Regions from separate parts of the Homo sapiens genome. Here region 2 is linked to region 1. The links are contacts of gene promoters, found by promoter capture Hi-C in human tissues and cell types (Jung and others, 2019). All regions are on one chromosome and are shown on one strand. Each heading gives the region's core, a stretch centred on a gene start or on the middle of the fragment in contact. The rest is flanking DNA. Distances are from core to core; before and after follow the strand shown.

The links. The method cuts DNA at HindIII sites, captures the fragments that hold promoters and counts their contacts. A contact is called where the count stands out against the background at its distance.
Region 2: a contact is called between a fragment that was not itself captured here and the fragment with the promoter of CREB3L3 in region 1, in 2 of the 25 tissues and cell types used here (aorta and spleen).

What each region holds. Positions count from the first base shown.
Region 1 is chr19:4,152,016-4,155,668 of GRCh38, forward strand. CREB3L3 (cAMP responsive element binding protein 3 like 3) reads left to right here and starts at 1,616. Exons shown (of 10, transcript NM_032607.3): 1 at 1,616-1,759; 2 at 2,884-3,012. The coding sequence starts at 1,733. The HindIII fragment of the contact is 37,156 bases long and covers 1-3,653 here.
Region 2 is chr19:3,305,008-3,308,660 of GRCh38, forward strand. LOC105372244 (a long non-coding RNA gene) reads right to left here and starts at 1,895. Exons shown (of 3, transcript NR_187753.1): 1 at 1,842-1,895. The HindIII fragment of the contact is 7,399 bases long and covers 1-3,653 here.

The DNA.
Region 1 (3,653 bases), core at 366-2,865:
TCCTGGGTTCAAGTGATTCTCCTGCTTCGGCCTCCCGAGTACTGGTATTGCAGGCATGTGCTACCACACCCATCTAATTTTTATATTTTTAGTACAGATGGGGTTTCACCATGTTGGCCAGGTTGGTCTCAAACTCTTGACCTCAGGTGATCCACCCACCTCGGCCTCCCAAAGTGCTGGCATTACAGATGTGAGCCACCACGCTTGGTCTAATATGTCATCTGCTAAAGGGGGACTTTGCCTGGGCACAGTGGCTCATGCCTGTAAATCCAGCACTTTGGGAGGCTGAAGCAGGTGGATCATTTGAGCCCAGGAGTTTGAGACCATACTGGCCAACACAGTAAGACCCCATCTCTATAAAAAAAAAAAAACAAAATTAGCCAGGTGTGGTGGTGCACGCCTGCAGTCCTAGCTACTTGGGAGGCTGAGACGGGAGGATCACTTGAACCCAGGAGTTGGAGGCTGCAGTGAGCTATGATCCTGCCACTGCACTCCAGCCTGGGCAATAGAGTGAGACCCTGTCCTCCACCAACACCAAAAAAAAAAACAAAAAAACAAAACAGGGCTCCTCTCTCTTGGTAGGGGGTGGAGGGGAGGTCAGAGACACCTCTCAGCCACCCGGGCTGATTCACAAATATCGAACATTCACTAAAATGTCAATACAGTGACCTAGAGCCAGAGGGGAAGAGGGAGGGTACAAGAGGAGAGTTCCAGGCAGAGGGGCGAGCAGGTGAGTAGGTGCAAAGGCCCTAAGCAGGAACCAGTTTGGCTCCATAAATATTTGTTGACTCAATGAACGATAGAAGATTCTAGAGAGAATTGATTGCACAGAATCACCCATGGGGACTCAGAGGCGGAGTCCAAGCTGGTTTCGGAGGGGGCTGGGGGCCGGAGGTTGGCAGGTGGGGTGAAGGATGGGAGCCGCTAGCTGCTGGCAGGAAAACTGGCTTCAGTGAAGATCTGGTCTGGTCCTCTTGGTTTGTTTCTGTCCAGGGAGTGGACAGGACCCATGTAAGGGCCCTGGGCTATCCCAGAACCCATCTGGGAATTCTGAAGAGAAAAAGTCCTGTAACTGGCCGGGTGCGGTGGCTCACGCCTGTAATCCCCGCACTTTGGGAGACTGAGGGGCCGATCACGAGGTCAGGAGTTCGAGACCAGCCTGGAAAACATGATGAAACCTCGTCTCTACTAAAAATACAAAAGTTAGCCGGGCATGGTGATGGGGACCTGTAGTCCCAGCTACTCGGGAGGCTGAGGCAGGAGAATCACTTGAACCCAAGAGGCAGAGGTTGCAGTGAGCCGAAATGAGATGGCACCACTGCACTCCAGCTTGGGCCACAGAGCGAGACTCCGTCTCAAAAAAGAAAGAAAAAAAGAAAAAGTCCTCATAAGTAGGGCAGAGGTCACGGCAGAGTGGAGGTACCCCAGACTTCGACCTTTGCTCACTGAGGGCTGGAAAACCACAAAACACCCAGATAACGGTCTTCCCTCCCCTGCTCCTGCCTGCCCCAGTGTCACTGGCCCTCAACCCTGTCTCTCCACCCTGTCCACCAATCAGCACCTGGAGGTGGGCTGGGAGCTGCCTGTGACCGCTTCAGCATCTTTTGGGAGTGGTGACAGAGCCACAGAGGGCTGTGAGCTTGCCCGGCCCCAGGTAACGCTGGCGGTGGGTGGGCCTCCAGCTTGGAGCAGAGACCCCCCGAGGCATCTGCAGACAGAACTGGATGGACCCATGAATACGGATTTAGCTGCTGGAAAGGTGAGCCCTACTAGGTCCCCAGGGAGAGCGGGAGTCTAGGCTGGGAAAGCCTACCCAAGCTGCCAGAGCTGGAAGGACCCCATCTCCACCCCTATTGTACAGATGGGAAGACTGAGGCCCAGAGAAAGGATGCAATGAGCAAAACTGTGTGCCTTTGCCCCGGGGCTGCCCTTGTCTTTCTTCCAGGTCCCCCTGCCTCCTAGGAGCGGGCACTTGGGGAGGCTGTGAAGGCCTGAGAGGCAAGCGGCATCTCTAGCTAGGGCCTCTCTCCAGCACTTTTTATTTTATTTTATTTTATTTTTATTTTTATTTTTTGAGATGGAGTCTCCCTCTGTCACCCAGGCTAGAGTGCAATGGCACGATCTCAGCTCACTGCAACTTCCACCTCCTGGGTTCAAGAGATCTTCCTGCCTCAGCCTCCCAAGTAGTTGGGATTACAGGTGTGCACCACCACGCCCGGCTAATTTTTGTACTTTTCCTAGAGACAGGGTTTCACCATGTTGGCTAGGCTGGTCTCAAACTCCTGACTTCAGGTGAGCTGCCCGCCTCGGCTTCCCAGAGTGCTGGGATTACAGATGTGAGCCACCGTGCCTGCCATACTTTTTTGTTTTTTGAAACAAGGTCTTGCTCTGTGACCCAGGGTGGAGTGCAGTGGGGTGGCCATAGCTCACTGCAGCCTCAACCTCCTGGGTTCAAGGGATCCTCCTACCTCAGCCTCCCCAGTAGCTGGGACGACAAGTGTGTGCCACCGCAGCCAGCTAATTTTTTTAAATTATTTGCAGTAGGGATAGGGGTCTCTATGTTGCGCAGGCTGGTCTTGAACTCCTGGGCTCAAGTGATCCTCCTGCCCCGGCCTCCCAAAGTGCTGAGATTACAGGCATGAGCCACCACATCCAGCCTCTCCAGCACTTTAAGAGAAATTGGCTCTCACACTGTGGAATTCTCTCTATCAGCCTCAAAGTCCAGATTTGGAAAGGGAGTCTCAGCGAGGGGCAGCAGCTGGCCCAACCCGGAGGCAGAGCGGCAACTGAACTCTAGCCGGAAAGAGCCAGGGTTATGTGCACATGGGAGGTGGGGAGGACAGGGGCTGTATGTGACCCTCACATCTGTTCCTCGCGCCCCAGATGGCTTCTGCTGCCTGCTCCATGGACCCCATCGACAGCTTTGAGCTCCTGGATCTCCTGTTTGACCGGCAGGACGGCATCCTGAGACACGTGGAGCTGGGCGAGGGCTGGGGTCACGTCAAGGACCAGGTGAGGAGTCCACTGCAGTTGCCCCGGGACCACAGAGCTCCAGGCGGGCCAACTGAGGCCCCACGAAGGTGCTAGACCCGCCAGAGCCCAGCCAGAGCTCTGCTCAGCTCTACGATGCACTAATGGGTCACGGTGCTTGATTTTAGCCAAGCACATCATTTAGCGGGTAGCATCAGCTCCTTCTTACAGGTGGGGAATGGAGGCCCAGAGCAGGGTGGAAACTCATCCAAAGTCACACAGCAATTTGGAGTTAGGTTCAAACTCAAACTTGGGGCATCTCCCTGGCTAGGTTCGGTTCTCTTCTCCTTCCTCTCCTTCCTTTCTCTCTTTCTTCTTCTTTTTTTTTTTTTTGAAGGAGTCTCGCTCTGTTGCCCAGGCTGGAGTGCAGTGGTGCCATCTCGGCTCACTGCAACCTCTGCCTCCCGGGTTCAAGCGATTCTCTTGCCTCAGCCTCCCAAGTAGCTGGGATTACAGGCGCCCGCCACTGCACCTGGCTAATTTTTGTATTTTTAGTAGAGATGGGTTTCACTATCCTGGCCAGGCTGGTCTTGAACTCCTGACCTTGTGATCCACCCACCTCAGCCTCCCAAAGTGCTGAGATTACAGGCGTGTGCCACCGCGCCCGGCCCACTTTCTTTTTT
Region 2 (3,653 bases), core at 770-3,269, 850 kb before region 1:
CAGTGAGCCGAGTTCCCGCCACTGCACTCCAGCTTGGGCGACAGAATGAGACTTTTTTTTAAAATTACTTTCCGGATGCTTTCGCTCCAGCGACCAGCAGGGGGCAGCAAAAACCCATGCCTTCTTTCAGGCTCTGTGCCTTGGCTTGAAATGTGCAAGATTTATTGAGCTCGGAGGGAGACTGTGAGGGGACTCCCTGGCTTCTCTCCTGGGACGCAAAAGTTGCCCCGTGCAAACTTTCTAGCCTGCAAGGTCGGCCCCGCTCCTCCTCCCCTTTTCTCTCCAGTAACTGAATGTGGTTTGGCTGCCAGGCCTTTGCACGTGCGGTTTCCCTAGCCTGGAACACTCTGTTCCCACCCTGGAGGTCGGAGATGCTGGGTTGGGATGGAGACACCCGTGACCTGCTAGGCCCAGGGCATGGCGTTAGCAAAGGTGGGGGTAGAAGTAGGAATTACTGGCCGGGCGCGGTGGCTCACGCCTGTAATCCCAGCACTTCGGGAGGCCGAGGTGAGTGGATCACCTGAGGACGGGAGTTCGAGACTAGCCAGACCAACATGGAGAAACCCCGTCTCTACTGAAAATACAAAATTAGTCGGGTGTGGTGGTGCATGCCTGTAATCCCAGCTACTAAGGAGGCTGAGGCCGGAGAATCGCTTGAACCTGGGAGGCGGAGGTTGCGGTGAGCCGAGATTGCGCCACTGCACTCCAGCCTGGGCGACAAGAGTGAAACGCCGTCTAAAAAAAAAAAAAAAAAAAAAAAAAAAAAGTAGGAATTACCTAGGTCCGAGTTAGAAAACAGAGAGCCCCTCAACTGTGGCCTCGAAACCACACAGAGGACTGAAGCAGGATGTGTGGGGGTAAAACTGAGGGCCAAATAGGAGCTGAGTCCCGACCAAGGGAGCTGGAGTTCCTCACCTCTGGGTCCTCAATATTTGCTGATTGACTTAAGACATGCATGCCCTTAAGCCTTGCATTCTCTCTCCAAGCTTCAGTTTCCTCATCTGTAAGACGGGGCTCATGAGATATATATATATATATGTGTGTGTGTGTGTGTGTGTGTATATATATATATACACATACATATGTGTGTATATACATATAATGTATATGTGTGTATATATGTATATATACGTGTGTATGTGTGTGTGTGTGTGTATACACATAATTTTTGGTTGGTTGTTTGAGACGGAGTCTCACTCTGTCACCCAGGCTGGAGTGCAGTGGCGCGATCTCAGTTCACTGCAACCTCCGCCTCCCAGGTTCAAGAGATTCTGCTGCCTCAGCCTCCCGAGTAGCTGGGATTACAGGTGCGCGCCACCACACCCGGCTAATTTTTGTATTTTTAATAGAGACAGGGTTTCACCATATTGGTCAGGCTGGTCTCGAATCCCTGACCTCTTGATCCGCCCGCCTCGGCCTTCCTGATCCAACCGCCTCGGCCTCCCAAAGTGCTGGGATTACAGGCGTGAGCCACCACGCCCGGCCTGGGCTCAGGTTATTATGCAAACATCCAGAACTGGGCAGATCAAGATGAATGATACCAATGATACTATCACATTATAGGCAAAATAGGACCTTCTCCCCGGTCAGAAAAGTGAACTCTCAGGCATCACTCCTACTGGAATCCAGAGTCAATAAACATTTATGAAGCACCTACTGGGTACTAGGAGCTGTTGTAGAAAGGTACTGGGGAGAAGGCAGGGAACGAAATGTACAAAAATTCTGACCACGTCCATAGTCCCTGGCCCCGCCCCACTACTTGCCCCAACCCTCACAGGAACAGTTTCCAGCCCCGCCCCCAGCCCCGCCTCCTCTCCACCCCCTCACTTTTCTGAACCTACCAGAGCGAGGTGAAGGGTGAGAGTAATCTACATATTCATGAGGGATCAGCCAATCCACAGCCTGAACTCGGATTTGTCTTCAGAGCCTAGCTGATTGTGACGTCAAGAGTGATGCATTACGTAGCCGGGCGCCGTGGCTCATGCCTGTAATCCCAGCACTTTGGGAAGCCGCGGAGGGCAGATCACCCGAGGTCAGGAGTTCAAGATCAGCCTGGCCAATATGGTGAAACCCCGTCTCTACTAAAAATACAAAAATTAGCCGGGTGTGGTGGCGAGTGCCTGTAATCCCAACTACTCAGGAGGCTGAGGCAGGAGGATCGCTTGAATCCAGAAGGCGGAGGTGGCAGTGAGTGGAGATCGTGCCACTGCACTCCAGCCTGGGCCACAGAGCCAGACTCCGTCTCAAAAAAAATAATAATAATAATAAAGTGATGCATTGCGTGATTTTTAAAGGTGCAGCAACCTCTCATGGTCTCAGTTTGCATATCCGTAAAGTACAGGTTGGGGCGTGCGGGACATAGAAACCAGCGCAGTACGATGACGCTGAAATCGCTTTGCCACCTTGGGTGAAATTCAGGGATACGTTTTGAGCGTTCACTACATGTCAGACACTTTACTCCAGCGGGGGCTCCGGAGTTCCTGCTTAGAATGGGAGCTTCAGCACCGGGGGTCGCGGACAGCTCCCGGCTCTGGTCGCAGGGGCTCCCATGCAGGATGACTGGGGACAAGGGTCTGAGCTTTCTCTGCCTGTCTGTCCTCCATCAAAGCCTCAAATGAACTCAGCCCTAATCTCTGACAGCTAAGGGGTTGCTAGTCAGGACAACACTCTGTCCTTGGTCCCCAATCCTGCTCCTCCCTCGTCGTCTGCATCTCAGCTGATGGCAGTTCCATTCTTTTTTTTTTTTTTTTTGAGACGGAGTCTCGCTCTGTCGCCCAGGCTAGAGTGCAGTGGCGCGATCTCGGCTCACTGCAAGCTCCGCCTCCCGGGTTCACACCATTCTCCTGCCTCAGCCTCCCGAGTAGCTGGGACTACAGGTGCCTGCCACCACGCCTGGCTAATTTTTTGTATTTTTAGTAGAGACGGGGTTTCACCGTGTTAGCCAGGATGGTCTCGATCTCCTGACCTCGTGATCCGCCTGCCTCGGCCGCCCAAAGTGCTGGGATTATAGGCGTGAGCCACCGCGCCCGGCCCGGCAGTTCCATTCTTCCGGGTGCTGGAGCCGAATATCAACGCTATCCTGGATCTTTTGTTTCTTGCTCAACTCCAATCTATCAGCAGGTCCTGTCGCCCCTGCCCTCACTATTCCATCCTCAAACGCTCACTTCTTCCTGTTCCTCTGCCTGGGTCCAGCCCCATCGTTGCCCACCTGGACCTGGCGCAGTTGCCTCTGCCTTGGTCCTAGGCTCCACCCTCTGCCACACAGTCTGTCCTCCCTGCAGCAGCCACCAGAGGGGGGCTGTGAGCACCCGAGTTAGGGCCTGTCCCTCCTCTGCCTACAGCACTCCAAGGCTCCCACCTTCCTCTGGGTCAAAGCCTCCCTGTGACCTATAAGGCTGGCAAGACCTTCCCTGTGTTAGCCAGGATGGTCTCGATCTCCTAACCTCGTGATCTGCCTGCCTCAGCCTCCCAAAGTGCTGGGATTACAGGCGTGAGCCACCACGCCCAGCCAATTTTCTGCATTTTGAATATATGTCTGGGTATGTCTCTTAGAGGATATTTATTCTGTTTGGTGTTTTCTGAGCCTCATGGATCTGTGAAAATTATTGGCTATTCTCTGAAAACAATCAGCTGCCCTAGTCTTCCTTCTCCTG